Linked DNA regions of Homo sapiens: region 2 is linked to region 1. Evidence: promoter capture Hi-C in human tissues and cell types (Jung and others, 2019). All regions are on one chromosome and are shown on one strand. Each heading gives the region's core, a stretch centred on a gene start or on the middle of the fragment in contact. The rest is flanking DNA. Distances are from core to core; before and after follow the strand shown. Region 1 holds the start of ICAM4 (intercellular adhesion molecule 4 (Landsteiner-Wiener blood group)). Region 2 overlaps COL5A3 (collagen type V alpha 3 chain).

Region 1 (7,162 bases), core at 4,177-6,676:
TATTTCAATCACTCTAAAAAAGAAACCTCCTGCTTATGTACAGCGACTCTGTCTACCTCTTAAGTGAATTCTCCTACCTTTAATAGCCCTATTTTACAGTTCAGGAAACTGAGGTTCAGAGAGACAAAGTCACTTACCCACAGCAAAGAAGCAAGGCTGGGTATCAAATGCAGGACCCCCCCGGTCCTGATGCTTTTTTTTTTTTTTTTTTTTTCCTCTGAGAGAGACTCTCACTCTGTCACTCAGTCTAGAGTACAGTGGCGCGATCTCAGTTCACTGCAATCTCTGCCTCCTGGGCTGAAGTAATCCTTTCCTCACAAGTAAACCTCAGCCTCTCAAGTAGCTGGGACTACAGGCACACAACACCACGCCTGGCTAATTTTTGTATTTTTAGGTAGAGACGGGGTTTCACTATATTGGCCAGGCTGGTCTTGAACTCCTGACCTCAGGTGATCCGCCTGCCTCGGCCCCCCAAAGTGTTGGGATTACAGGCGTGAGCCACCACACGCAGCCTTTTTGTTATTAGACTCTGTCATTACTGACTTTTTTTTTTTTTTAATAGAAACAGGGTCTTTCTTTCCCAGGCTAAAGTACAGTGGCATGATCACAGTTCACTATAGCCTTAAACTCCTGGGCTCAAGTGATCCTCCTGCCTCAGCCTCCCAAGTAGCAGGGACTACAGGTGTGCACCACCACACCCAGTTAACCATTCATTCATTCATTCATTCATTTATTTTGAGATGGAGTCTCGCTCTGTCACCTAGGCTGGAGTGCAGTGGCACGATCTCAGCTCACTGCAACCTCCACCTCCCAGGTTCAAGAGATTCTCCTGCCTCAGCCTCCCGAGTAGCTGAGACTACAGGCGTGCACCACCATGCCAGACTAATTTTTGTATTTTTAATAGAGACGGGGTTTCACTCTGTTGGTCAGGCTTATCTCGAACTCCTGACTTCGTGGATCCACCCTCCTTGGCCTCCCAAAGTGCTGGGATTAAAGGCGTGAGCCACCGCGCCCTGCCAACCTTTTTTTAATTTTTCTTAGAGATGGGGGTCTCCCTATGTTGCCCAGGCTTGTCTTGAACTCCTGGCCTCAAGTGACCCTCTTGCCTTGGCCTCACAAAGTGCTAGGATTACAGCCTGAGCCATCACACCTGGCCAACAGGTTTTTTTTTTTGTTTTGTTTTGTTTTTTAAAGAATGTCTAGGCCAGGCTCATTTACTTTCACCTGTAATCCCAGCACTTTGGGAGGCCGGGGTGGGCAGATCACTTGAGGTCAGGAATTCGAGACCAGCCTGGGCAACATGCTGAAACCCCGTTTCTACTAAAAATACAAAAATTAGCTGGGTGTGGTGACACGTGCCTGTAATCCCAGCTACTCAGGAGGTTGAGGCAGGAGAATTGCTTGAACCCAGGAGGCAGAGGTTGCAGTGAGCCAAGATCATGCCATCACCCTCCAGCCTGGGCGACAGAAGGAGACTCAGTCTAAAAACTTAATTAATTAATTAATTAAAAATAAAAATACAAAAATTAACCTGGTGTGGTGGTGTGTGCCTGTAATCTAAGCTACTCAGGAGGCTGAGGCAGGAGAATCCCCTGAATCCCAGAGGCAGAGGTTGCAGTGAGCCAAGATCGAGCCACTGTTTGCCCAGTCTAGTGCACTGGGCTGCTGAATTTATTTGACCAGACACCTAGCAATAGACTTTGAAGTTCTTTTCCACTTTTCACTCTAAGATGCTGCTGTCATGAATAAGGAATATTTTGATCCCCTTCACAAACACTCGGGGCCCTCTTACCAGTTTTCACTGAAGATCTTGACATTCCTATCTGCTTAGGTGTCTGGGCGTGTTTGGGGGAGATACTGAAGAGGTAGGGCTCCCAGGCAGGTGCAGTTCGTCTGTTAGGCAGGCAGCAAGGTCCACTTCACCAGACACCCCCACCTCTGTTTTCCTGCAGGGACTCCAGAACGGGTGGAACTGGCACCCCTCCCCTCTTGGCAGCCAGTGGGCAAGAACCTTACCCTACGCTGCCAGGTGGAGGGTGGGGCACCCCGGGCCAACCTCACCGTGGTGCTGCTCCGTGGGGAGAAGGAGCTGAAACGGGAGCCAGCTGTGGGGGAGCCCGCTGAGGTCACGACCACGGTGCTGGTGAGGAGAGATCACCATGGAGCCAATTTCTCGTGCCGCACTGAACTGGACCTGCGGCCCCAAGGGCTGGAGCTGTTTGAGAACACCTCGGCCCCCTACCAGCTCCAGACCTTTGGTGAGGATTGAAGAAGCCAGCAGGGAGAAGGTGGGGGTGGGGTATCCTGCAATGCGGTGCCTGTGGCCACAGGATCTTTTGAGATGGGTGTGGCCCCGGCTAAGGGGTGCATGTGTTCTAGGCGTATGTGACCTAGGCTGCTGAGTGGCCCTGGAAGAGGATCTCGCAGGAGGGGGAATGAAATGCCCCAGAGAAGGGCTTCGGGACGTCCATCCCTGTCTGCTCACACCTTTCTTCTCTCCCTAGTCCTGCCAGCGACTCCCCCACAACTTGTCAGCCCCCGGGTCCTAGAGGTGGACACGCAGGGGACCGTGGTCTGTTCCCTGGACGGGCTGTTCCCAGTCTCGGAGGCCCAGGTCCACCTGGCACTGGGGGACCAGAGGTTGAACCCCACAGTCACCTATGGCAACGACTCCTTCTCGGCCAAGGCCTCAGTCAGTGTGACCGCAGAGGACGAGGGCACCCAGCGGCTGACGTGTGCAGTAATACTGGGGAACCAGAGCCAGGAGACACTGCAGACAGTGACCATCTACAGTAAGAAGGGGCAGGGGCGGAGTGGGGCTTCTTGGGGGTGTGACCTGAACCCGGGGCGGGGCTCACTGTGTGCCTATTCCAGGCTTTCCGGCGCCCAACGTGATTCTGACGAAGCCAGAGGTCTCAGAAGGGACCGAGGTGACAGTGAAGTGTGAGGCCCACCCTAGAGCCAAGGTGACGCTGAATGGGGTTCCAGCCCAGCCACTGGGCCCGAGGGCCCAGCTCCTGCTGAAGGCCACCCCAGAGGACAACGGGCGCAGCTTCTCCTGCTCTGCAACCCTGGAGGTGGCCGGCCAGCTTATACACAAGAACCAGACCCGGGAGCTTCGTGTCCTGTGTGAGTGGGGCTGCTGGTCAATGGCCCCTATCCCCCAAGGCCCAATCTCCCTGAAGGTCCCATAAGGTCTTGCCTCCAAGTCCTGCCCCCACCCACCTCCATGTCATCTCATCGTGTTTTTCCAGATGGCCCCCGACTGGACGAGAGGGATTGTCCGGGAAACTGGACGTGGCCAGAAAATTCCCAGCAGACTCCAATGTGCCAGGCTTGGGGGAACCCATTGCCCGAGCTCAAGTGTCTAAAGGATGGCACTTTCCCACTGCCCATCGGGGAATCAGTGACTGTCACTCGAGATCTTGAGGGCACCTACCTCTGTCGGGCCAGGAGCACTCAAGGGGAGGTCACCCGCAAGGTGACCGTGAATGTGCTCTGTGAGTGAGCCGGCGGGCAGAGCTGGGTGGGGGCAGGGGCCATGGACCTAATGCAATCCTCACCGCCTGTTGTATCCTCCCCACAGCCCCCCGGTATGAGATTGTCATCATCACTGTGGTAGCAGCCGCAGTCATAATGGGCACTGCAGGCCTCAGCACGTACCTCTATAACCGCCAGCGGAAGATCAAGAAATACAGACTACAACAGGCCCAAAAAGGGACCCCCATGAAACCGAACACACAAGCCACGCCTCCCTGAACCTATCCCGGGACAGGGCCTCTTCCTCGGCCTTCCCATATTGGTGGCAGTGGTGCCACACTGAACAGAGTGGAAGACATATGCCATGCAGCTACACCTACCGGCCCTGGGACGCCGGAGGACAGGGCATTGTCCTCAGTCAGATACAACAGCATTTGGGGCCATGGTACCTGCACACCTAAAACACTAGGCCACGCATCTGATCTGTAGTCACATGACTAAGCCAAGAGGAAGGAGCAAGACTCAAGACATGATTGATGGATGTTAAAGTCTAGCCTGATGAGAGGGGAAGTGGTGGGGGAGACATAGCCCCACCATGAGGACATACAACTGGGAAATACTGAAACTTGCTGCCTATTGGGTATGCTGAGGCCCCACAGACTTACAGAAGAAGTGGCCCTCCATAGACATGTGTAGCATCAAAACACAAAGGCCCACACTTCCTGACGGATGCCAGCTTGGGCACTGCTGTCTACTGACCCCAACCCTTGATGATATGTATTTATTCATTTGTTATTTTACCAGCTATTTATTGAGTGTCTTTTATGTAGGCTAAATGAACATAGGTCTCTGGCCTCACGGAGCTCCCAGTCCTAATCACATTCAAGGTCACCAGGTACAGTTGTACAGGTTGTACACTGCAGGAGAGTGCCTGGCAAAAAGATCAAATGGGGCTGGGACTTCTCATTGGCCAACCTGCCTTTCCCCAGAAGGAGTGATTTTTCTATCGGCACAAAAGCACTATATGGACTGGTAATGGTTACAGGTTCAGAGATTACCCAGTGAGGCCTTATTCCTCCCTTCCCCCCAAAACTGACACCTTTGTTAGCCACCTCCCCACCCACATACATTTCTGCCAGTGTTCACAATGACACTCAGCGGTCATGTCTGGACATGAGTGCCCAGGGAATATGCCCAAGCTATGCCTTGTCCTCTTGTCCTGTTTGCATTTCACTGGGAGCTTGCACTATGCAGCTCCAGTTTCCTGCAGTGATCAGGGTCCTGCAAGCAGTGGGGAAGGGGGCCAAGGTATTGGAGGACTCCCTCCCAGCTTTGGAAGCCTCATCCGCGTGTGTGTGTGTGTGTATGTGTAGACAAGCTCTCGCTCTGTCACCCAGGCTGGAGTGCAGTGGTGCAATCATGGTTCACTGCAGTCTTGACCTTTTGGGCTCAAGTGATCCTCCCACCTCAGCCTCCTGAGTAGCTGGGACCATAGGCTCACAACACCACACCTGGCAAATTTGATTTTTTTTTTTTTTCCAGAGACGGGGTCTCGCAACATTGCCCAGACTTCCTTTGTGTTAGTTAATAAAGCTTTCTCAACTGCCTCAGCCTTGTGTGAGTTGAGGGGAGGTGTCACATCCAGCTGGAGTCCTTTCTAAGCAGCCACAGCCTGATCCTCCCACTTCCTCCCCCAAGAAAACATTGTGGGTTGATGGCCATACCCTGAGGTTCTGGTCCAAATCGGACTTTCTATGACCTTCTGGGTCTCTAGTGAAAACTAAAGACTCCTCTCCAGAAAAAAACATTTGGTTTCTAATGAGGCCTGGAATCTTATTCTTGACCTGGGGAGCGGAATCCCTTTTTGCAGTACTCCCGGGCCCTCTGTTGGGGCCTCCCCTTCCTCTCCAGGGTGGAGTCGAGGAGGCGGGGCTGCGGGCCTCCTTATCTCTAGAGCCGGCCCTGGCTCTCTGGCGCGGGGCCCCTTAGTCCGGGCTTTTTGCCATGGGGTCTCTGTTCCCTCTGTCGCTGCTGTTTTTTTTGGCGGCCGCCTACCCGGGAGTTGGGAGCGCGCTGGGACGCCGGACTAAGCGGGCGCAAAGCCCCAAGGGTAGCCCTCTCGCGCCCTCCGGGACCTCAGTGCCCTTCTGGGTGCGCATGAGCCCGGAGTTCGTGGCTGTGCAGCCGGGGAAGTCAGTGCAGCTCAATTGCAGCAACAGCTGTCCCCAGCCGCAGAATTCCAGCCTCCGCACCCCGCTGCGGCAAGGCAAGACGCTCAGAGGGCCGGGTTGGGTGTCTTACCAGCTGCTCGACGTGAGGGCCTGGAGCTCCCTCGCGCACTGCCTCGTGACCTGCGCAGGAAAAACACGCTGGGCCACCTCCAGGATCACCGCCTACAGTGAGGGACAGGGGCTCGGTCCCGGCTGGGGTGAGGGGAGGGGGCTGGAAGAGGTGGGGGAAGGGTAGTTGACAGTCGCTCTATAGGGAGCGCCCGCGGACCTCACTCAGAGGCTCCCCCTTGCCTTAGAACCGCCCCACAGCGTGATTTTGGAGCCTCCGGTCTTAAAGGGCAGGAAATACACTTTGCGCTGCCACGTGACGCAGGTGTTCCCGGTGGGCTACTTGGTGGTGACCCTGAGGCATGGAAGCCGGGTCATCTATTCCGAAAGCCTGGAGCGCTTCACCGGCCTGGATCTGGCCAACGTGACCTTGACCTACGAGTTTGCTGCTGGACCCCGCGACTTCTGGCAGCCCGTGATCTGCCACGCGCGCCTCAATCTCGACGGCCTGGTGGTCCGCAACAGCTCGGCACCCATTACACTGATGCTCGGTGAGGCACCCCTGTAACCCTGGGGACTAGGAGGAAGGGGGCAGAGAGAGTTATGACCCCGAGAGGGCGCACAGACCAAGCGTGAGCTCCACGCGGGTCGACAGACCTCCCTGTGTTCCGTTCCTAATTCTCGCCTTCTGCTCCCAGCTTGGAGCCCCGCGCCCACAGCTTTGGCCTCCGGTTCCATCGCTGCCCTTGTAGGGATCCTCCTCACTGTGGGCGCTGCGTACCTATGCAAGTGCCTAGCTATGAAGTCCCAGGCGTAAAGGGGGATGTTCTATGCCGGCTGAGCGAGAAAAAGAGGAATATGAAACAATCTGGGGAAATGGCCATACATGGTGGCTGACGCCTGTAATCCCAGCACTTTGGGAGGCCGAGGCAGGAGAATCGCTTGAGCCCAGGAGTTCGAGACCAGCCTGGACAACATAGTGAGACCCCGTCTATGCAAAAAATACACAAATTAGCCTGGTGTGGTGGCCCGCACCTGTGGTCCCAGCTACCCGGGAGGCTGAGTTGGGAGGATCCTTTGAGCCCTGAAAGTCGAGGTTGCAGTGAGCCTTGATCGTGCCACTGCACTCCAGCCTGGGGGACAGAGCACGACCCTGTCTCCAAAAATAAAATAAAAATAAAAATAAATATTGGCGGGGGAACCCTCTGGAATCAATAAAGGCTTCCTTAACCAGCCTCTGTCCTGTGACCTAAGGGTCCGCATTACTGCCCTTCTTCGGAGGAACTGGTTTGTTTTTGTTGTTGTTGTTGTTTTTGCGATCACTTTCTCCAAGTTCCTTGTCTCCCTGAGGGCACCTGAGGTTTCCTCACTCAGGGCCCACCTGGGGTCCCGAAGCCCCAGAC
Region 2 (7,162 bases), core at 2,961-5,460, 310 kb before region 1:
GCCTTTACTCCCCTTGTGTCCGGGGGCACCCACATCCCCCTGCAGAGGAAATGGGATGAAGGACCCAGCTTCCATTCACCCCCATCCTCCCCTGGACCCTTCCTCTCTGTGAACCCCTCACCTTGTCCCCTTCCTCGCCAGAAGGCCCAGCAGCTCCAGGGGGTCCCAGAGGCCCCAGGGGCCCTGGGATCCCATCTTTGCCAGTGGGGCCAGGGGGGCCACGTTCTCCCTGTTGTGGGGAATGGAAAGGGGGATGTCAGGGCAGGAATGTCCTGCAGGAGCCATGTCCTGGGATGTGGCAGGGCCAGACCCTGAGGAGGCCCTAGGAATGGGATGGGCAAGTCACTTACCCGGGACCCCTTCTTGCCTGCAGGGCCAACGGGGCCTTCGCTGCCACTTTGGCCAGGAAGTCCAATGCCTCCTGCTGGGCCCAAAGGACCGCGCTCACCAGGGGAGCCCTGAGAACAGGGGTGATGAATCAGGTATAATACCAGTAGTAGCTGTCCTTTATGGAGGGTTTTTAAGCCACCAGGCACTGAGTTCTGAGGTTACCAGGATTGTATCTAACCTGTTCCCCTCCTGCAGCAGCCAGAGGGTGCCTGTGAGCACCTGAGGGGCAGGGCATATTCTTCTCCTGCTCAAGAACACTCCATGGCTCCCATCTCACTTAGAACAAAAGCCATAGTCCTCCTGGCAGCCTATACATATATATATATATATATATATATATATATATATATATTTGTAGAGACAGGACCTGGCTATGTTGCCCAGGCTGGTCTCAAACTCCTGGGCTCAAGCGATTCTCCAGCCTCAGCCTCCCAAAGAGCTGGGATTATAGGCATGAGCAACTACACCTGGCCCAAGAAAAGGGGTTTTTATATGTTGATGGCCAATGCACAGGTAAGTATTTACTGGATAAATGATCTCAATGAGGTTTGTGATCATACATGAGATAAGGCTTCCCATCATGGCTATTTTACAGACAAGGAAACTGAGGCTTGCCAAGGAATACAACGGCCCAGCCAGTGAGCAACAGAACTGACCTTGGCTCATTGCAACCTCCACCTCCCAGGTTCAAGCGATTCTCCTGCCTCAGCCTCTAGAGTAGCTGGGATTACAGGCATCTGCCTCCATGCCTGGCTAATTTTTGTATTTTTAGTAGAGACGGGGTTCCACCATGTTGGCCAGGCTGATCTTGAACTCCTGACCTCAAGTGATCTGCCTGCCTCAGCCTCCATCATGGGTTTTATCATGACAATGTCAAGCTTCCAAGACACCTTGAGTCCCCTCCACCCTGCCCCCACCCAGCACATGGGGTTATACTTACATTGGCCCCCACGGGCCCTGGGGGGCCCTTATCACCCTTTAAGCCAGTAGGTCCCTGAAGGAGGAGATAATTCACAGTTAAGAGACTCCCAAAGGTGTCCCCAGGTCCTGTCTTCCTCTGTGGGGAGCTCACAGTCCCCACCTCTCTCCTGGGACTGGACACTGAGCTTTGAGGGGTCTGCCTTCCCCAGTTCCCTCCACCATTTTTTTTGCTTTCATCATTTCCCGCACCCCAAATGCTATTCCCCATCCCTCCCCTGACCCCCCCATCCTTTCCTTCTCTAAGGGACATGCAGGAGGGTCTCCAAAGATACTCACCGGGTCCCCAGGGCCCCCTTTGGGGCCGGGAAAGCCCCTGAGTCCAGCTGGCCCTTCTTTCCCAAGGGGTCCTGGTGGTCCCAGTTCCCCCTACAGGAGTGCAAAGGAGGGAAGTCAAGCTCCAGGGAGGGGATGTCTCCCTCCAATCTGTGACTCAGGGCCCCCTCCCCCATGAGACTGATTCTGAGTCCTTGGTTGATCTTGGATGTTCAACCAAGATCTCCAGTGGACAGTGTCTCACCTTGGCCCCCTCTCTGCCTTCCAGGCCAGGAAGACCTTGTTCACCAGGAGGTCCAGGGGGGCCTGGAGGCCCCCTTTCACCTAGAGGTCCCACTTCTCCTGTCTTTCCCTGGTGAGGAAGAAGGCTCCTGTTGAGTGGGGGTGGCCTAGGGGAGTCGCTCAGGAGTCCAGCTTTCCCCTAAATATCCCCCAACTGGTACAAAACAAGGGAGGTTTATGGAGTCCACTCTGACCTGAGGGCCTAAGACACCAGCTGGTCCAGGCGGGCCTGTCTGACCTTGGAAGCCCTAGAGAGAAAAATTAAATGTGGGGGCGGTGTTACATGGGGAAGGGATGGAGGAGCAGGAGACAGGGAAGGCCTGATAGGATCAGGAATCTGGCCGGTCCGGTGGCTCACGCCTGTAATCCCAGCACTTTGGGAGGCAGAGGCAGGTGGGTCACTTGAAGCCAGGAGTTTGAGAGCAGCCTGGTCAACATGATGAAGCCCCGTCTCTACTAAAAATACAAAAATTAGCCGGGCGTGGTGGCACGCGCCTGTAGTGCCACTCGGGAGGCTGAGGCAGGAGAATTGCTTGAACCTGGGAGGCAAAGGTTGCAGTGAGCCGAGATTGCCCCACTGCACTCTAGCCCAGGTGACAGAGTGAGACTCTGTCTCAAAAAGAAAAAAAAAAAAAAGGATCAGGAATCAAAGGTTGAGGGGTTACTCACCAGTTCTCCTCTCTGTCCAGGGTGCCCTGGTCGCCCATCTTTACCTTGGTGACCCTGGGGGATGAGGTGGGAAAAAGTTGGGGCACAGATACAGGGCTTCCTCCCTTCCCACATCCTCCACCCACCCAACCCCCAATGAGGGTGACCTCACTCACAGGGGGGCCCTTTGGCCCAGGGAATCCTGGAGGGCCTTGCAGACCAGGGAGGCCCTGAAATGGAAACAGAAATCATGATCTCATCCCCCCTGCCTCCCTGCCCACTCCCTGAGCCCCACATAATGACAACAGGATCGAGCACATATTGAGTGCTTACTGCATGCCAGGCATGGGCAGGGCATTCTCCACAAGTCAGTCATTTTATTCACCACTGTAGCCCTTTGGGTTGGAGACTGAGGTTACTCCCATTTTACAGAGGAGAAAACTAAGGCACAGAGTGGTTAAGTGACTTGCCCAAGGTCACACAGTAGGTGAGTGGCAGAGCCAGGACTTGAACTCATGGCTCTCTGACTTCACAGGCTGTGCTCCTTCTTTTTTTCTTTTCTTAAAGATGGAGTCTTGCTCTGTCACCCAAGCTGGAGTGCAGTGGTGTGATTAGCTCACTTCAGCTTCCAACTCCTGGGCTCAAGCAATTCTCTCATCTCAGCTTCCAGCATAGGTGGGACTACAGGCGTGCACCACCACACCCAATTAAGCTGTGCTCTTACCACTGCATTATAATGTCTCTTCATCTCTTGGGTTTGTCCTCCACTCAGAATCTCTCTCTCTCACACACACACACATTCACACACACACACACACACACACACTCACCTTTTCTCCAGGGATCCCAGGGGCTCCATCCTGGCCCACATCGCCCTAGGACAGAGTGAATGAGACTCAGGCCCCAGAACAAACTCAACTGGGAAGAATTTGGAGGGACTGGCTGAGCCTGGGGCATGGGGGGCCTTGATTGCCCACCCATCCCATACCTTGGGGCCTGGTTGCCCTGTGGCACCCGGTTGCCCCCTCTCTCCACGGGAACCCTGAACAAAAAAAAAAGGCAAAGATCAGATATGAGGGGGTGGGGGAGCCTGGGAGATGAGACCAAGTCTTCCAGGTCCCCTCCCCTTGTGACTCCCTCTCCTGCCCGACCAGGGACATTGATATAACCCAAACCCTTTCCCTGCCCACAGATGACCTCTCCACTACCTTTCCTTCCCAGCCCTGTCCCCAAGTCCCAGCAGGGTAGGGGGCACTGTCTATTTTCTTACTGGTGGTCCCCGCTCTCCTTCCAGGCCTGGCTGCCCTGTCTTTCCCTGAAAATGAATTGTAAGAGAGAAAGCAGAAGAGAGTTAGGGTGCAAAGGTATGACGCAAACACAAAAAGACACCCAGTCACAGACCCAGAAAGCTGTCTGCCACATATTTATTCACAAGCTTTTCAGTCATACACATACACACAAATACAACTTATACTCAAAACCACACAAAGATCTCAAACACACAATTACAACTATGATTGCATCTACAGAGTACAAACGTGCAAGCATGTTTGCCCACAAGACATATATTGATCACAGCTGTGCAGTATGCATACATGATTGCATGTAATCATGGCATGCATTTGGCAATCCACAGCCTGAAGATGACACAGAACTCATCATGCAATACATCTCTTGCACACATGTATACCCACTGTAAACACATGAAGGCCTGGATTCAGCTGAGGACTTTGTCTTGGTAAGCACAGCAGTATACATACACTCATGTACGTACATACAATGTTCATTAACACTGTTACAATACACACATAGCAACACAAATACAATACATGCATGTATACCCATCACTCAGTGTGCACAGAAACACACACATGTGTATACACATGTCCTTTCACGCATATGTACAAGCTTCTTGCACACATTTATGCCCACCATCATGCAAAGTGCACGCAGATTCATGCCCTTGTTCACCCAGGCACAGGCCTGCAGGCTGCGGCATTCAAACCCTGTCTCATCGATATTGAAAGATACATGAAACACATATACATGTGCTTACAGTCATATTCATGATAATACCATGTGTAATCACCTACATGTGTCATGCATTGCATATAATAGCATGTGTGCACACAAATGTTCCAGGCATAGACACAAACACCCAGGGTCCACCCATCATCAGACACAACCACACATGCTGTTCCCCTCAGACAAGTTCTCCCCTCTCCCTTACCCCCGGTCATGACTCACCGACTTCCCTTTCTCTCCTATGGGTCCCAGGGGACCGGGAAATCCAATAGATCCCTGAGTGGAGAGAATTAGAAAGAAGACATGAGGGTGAGGAGTGAGTGGTGGGTGGAATTGGCCCCTCATACCATCCTTTGAGGCATTTCCAGGTCACTGATTCCAGAAGCTTCCTTGGTCTCTACAGCCCCAGCCTCCTACAAGGCAGCCCTCTTCTCTCCTCTCCCCTCCTCTCCTCCCTTCTCATTTCACTGCAGCCCTTTGCACTGGCTGCTGTCTTTGGCTGAAATGCTTGTCTCCTAGGCCTCCACAAAGTCAGCCACTCCTGACCATTTAGATCTCATTCAGATGTCACCTCCTTAGAATGCCTTTCTACCACCATCCTGGCTTCCACATTGCCCAAGTCACCCTCTGTCTGTCACATTATGCTATTTTGTTTTCCCAAGAACACTTGCGTTGAAATGACCCTTATTGACTTATTTATTCAATGCCTGTTTTCCCCCACTGTGACATAGCTCATTGGTCTTATTCCCCACTGCCTGGCACACGGTGAGTGCTTTTTAATATTTGTTAACTGACTCCAGTCCATGCTGGAGGAACCCTTCCTCCACCTGGGGGAAGACATCACAGGCTCTGATATCCTCTCCCACACCTCACTGTGCAGACTGAGTTCAGATCAGAAAAGACAGTTGCCCAAGTTACACAGTCTGTGGTGGCATCCCGCCTCAAAGCCCATTTCAGGCTCCCTCTACTCTCCCTTCCCATCTGGGGGTTCCATGGTCTCTATACTCTTTTTTTGTTTGTTTTATTTTTAAGAGACAGAGTCTCACTTTGTCACCCAGGCTGGAGTGCAGTGGTGCAATCATAGCTCACTGCAGCTTCAACCTTTTGGGCTCAAGTGATCCTCCTACCTCAACCTCCTGAATAGCTGGGACTACAGGTTCACGCCACCATGTCCAGCTAATTTTTGAAATAAATTTTTAGTAGATATGGGGTCTCACTATGTTGCCCAGGCTGGTCTTGAACTCCCGGCCTCTAGTGATTCTCCTACCTCAGCCTCTGAAAGTGCTGAGATTACAGGTGTGAGCCACCAACCTGGCCCCAACACTCTTCAAGGATCCTGAACACATGCACACAAGGACTTTCTAAAATCTTAGTCTATGTCAGGTACAGTGGCTTATGCTTGTAATCCCAGCACTTTGGGAGGCCAAGGTAGGAGAATCACTTGAAGCTGGGAGTTTGAGATCAGCCTGGGCAGCATAGCGAGACCCTGTCTCTGTAAAAAATTTAAAAATTCATCAGGTGGTGCGCACCTGTTGTTCCCAGCTACTCAGGAGGCTGAGGCAGGAGGACTGCTTGAGTCCAAGAATTGGGGGCTGTAATAAGCTATGATCGCACTATTGCACTCCAGCCTGAATGACAGAGTGACACCCTGTCTGAAAGGAAAGCAAGCAAGCAAGCAAAAAGAAAGAAGAAAGAAAGAAAGAAAGAAAGAAAGAAAGAAAGAAAGAAAGAAAGAAAGAAAGAAAGAAAGAAAGAAAGAGAAAGAGAGAGAGAGAGAAAGAAAGAAAGAAGAGAGAGAGAGAAAGAAAGACAGACAGAAAGAAAGAAAGAAAAAAGAAGAAAGAAAGAAGGAAAGAAAGAGAAAAAAGAAGGAAAAGAAAAGAAAAAAGAGGGGGACGCAGTGAGGGAGGGAGGGAAGAAAGGAAGGAAGGAAGAAAGGAGGAAGGAAGGAAGGAGAATAAAGTTGTCCATCAAAACTAAGCTTCAAAGTTTTTTTCTCAATCGTTAAAAAGAAAAAAAAATCTAAGTTAAAGGAAAAGGAGTCAATGTAAAGGGAAATCACTGAAAAAATAAAAAAAAAAAACCACTGTCAAATCCAACGTAGGCAAGATAACTATCAGCTCAACAGCACAAAAATGTGAAACTCTAGGAGGATTCTGCACTCAATTATCTTCCCAAATGTCTATTTTTTTTTTCTTTTGAGACAGAGTCTCACTCTGTTGCCCAGGGTGGAGTAAGTGGCACGATCTCAGCTCACTGCATCCTCTGCTTCCCGGGCTCAAGCAATTCTCCTGCCTCAGCCTCCATGTACCTGGGATTACAGGCACCCGCCACTGCACCCAGCTAATTCTTGTATTTTTAGTAGAGATGGGGTTCTGCCATGTTGGCCAGGCTGGTGGTGAACTCTCGACCTCAGGTGATCCACTCGCCTCGGCCTCCCAAAGTGCTGGGATTACAGCCATGAGCCACTGCGCCCAGCCCCAAATGTCTTTAGGTTCCTGCTCTACTCTAGAGAAACAGAACTCATCAGTGATATAATATGGGAATAGTTTAGGCAGAAAAA

The links. The method cuts DNA at HindIII sites, captures the fragments that hold promoters and counts their contacts. A contact is called where the count stands out against the background at its distance.
Region 2: a fragment that was not itself captured here is called in contact with the fragment with the promoter of ICAM4 in region 1 in 1 of the 25 tissues and cell types used here (dorsolateral prefrontal cortex).

What each region holds. Positions count from the first base shown.
Region 1 is chr19:10,281,529-10,288,690 of GRCh38, forward strand. It overlaps ICAM4 (intercellular adhesion molecule 4 (Landsteiner-Wiener blood group)), which reads left to right and starts at 5,427. Exons shown (of 3, transcript NM_001544.5): 1 at 5,427-5,878; 2 at 6,008-6,310; 3 at 6,458-6,992. The coding sequence starts at 5,485. The coding sequence ends at 6,576. ICAM1 (intercellular adhesion molecule 1) reads left to right here. Exons shown (of 7, transcript NM_000201.3): 3 at 1,953-2,258; 4 at 2,505-2,792; 5 at 2,875-3,129; 6 at 3,255-3,500; 7 at 3,587-5,087. The coding sequence ends at 3,759. It overlaps ICAM4-AS1 (ICAM4 antisense RNA 1), which reads right to left. Exons shown (of 1, transcript NR_186335.1): 1 at 4,273-7,162. It overlaps LIMASI (lncRNA inflammatory and mucous response associated, antisense to ICAM1), which reads right to left and starts at 1,922. Exons shown (of 4, transcript XR_007067138.1): 1 at 1,793-1,922. RefSeq lists enhancers at 4,995-5,044, 5,099-6,068, 5,415-5,554. The HindIII fragment of the contact is 9,158 bases long and covers 1-6,352 here.
Region 2 is chr19:9,977,244-9,984,405 of GRCh38, forward strand. COL5A3 (collagen type V alpha 3 chain) reads right to left here. Exons shown (of 67, transcript NM_015719.4): 32 at 4,822-4,875; 33 at 3,845-3,889; 34 at 3,563-3,616; 35 at 3,405-3,449; 36 at 2,751-2,804; 37 at 2,596-2,649; 38 at 2,121-2,174; 39 at 1,889-1,996; 40 at 1,648-1,737; 41 at 1,331-1,384; 42 at 351-458; 43 at 122-229; 44 at 1-39. Among named protein-coding and RNA genes, the nearest start is that of COL5A3, 30 kb to the right of the region's middle. The HindIII fragment of the contact is 3,144 bases long and covers 2,639-5,782 here.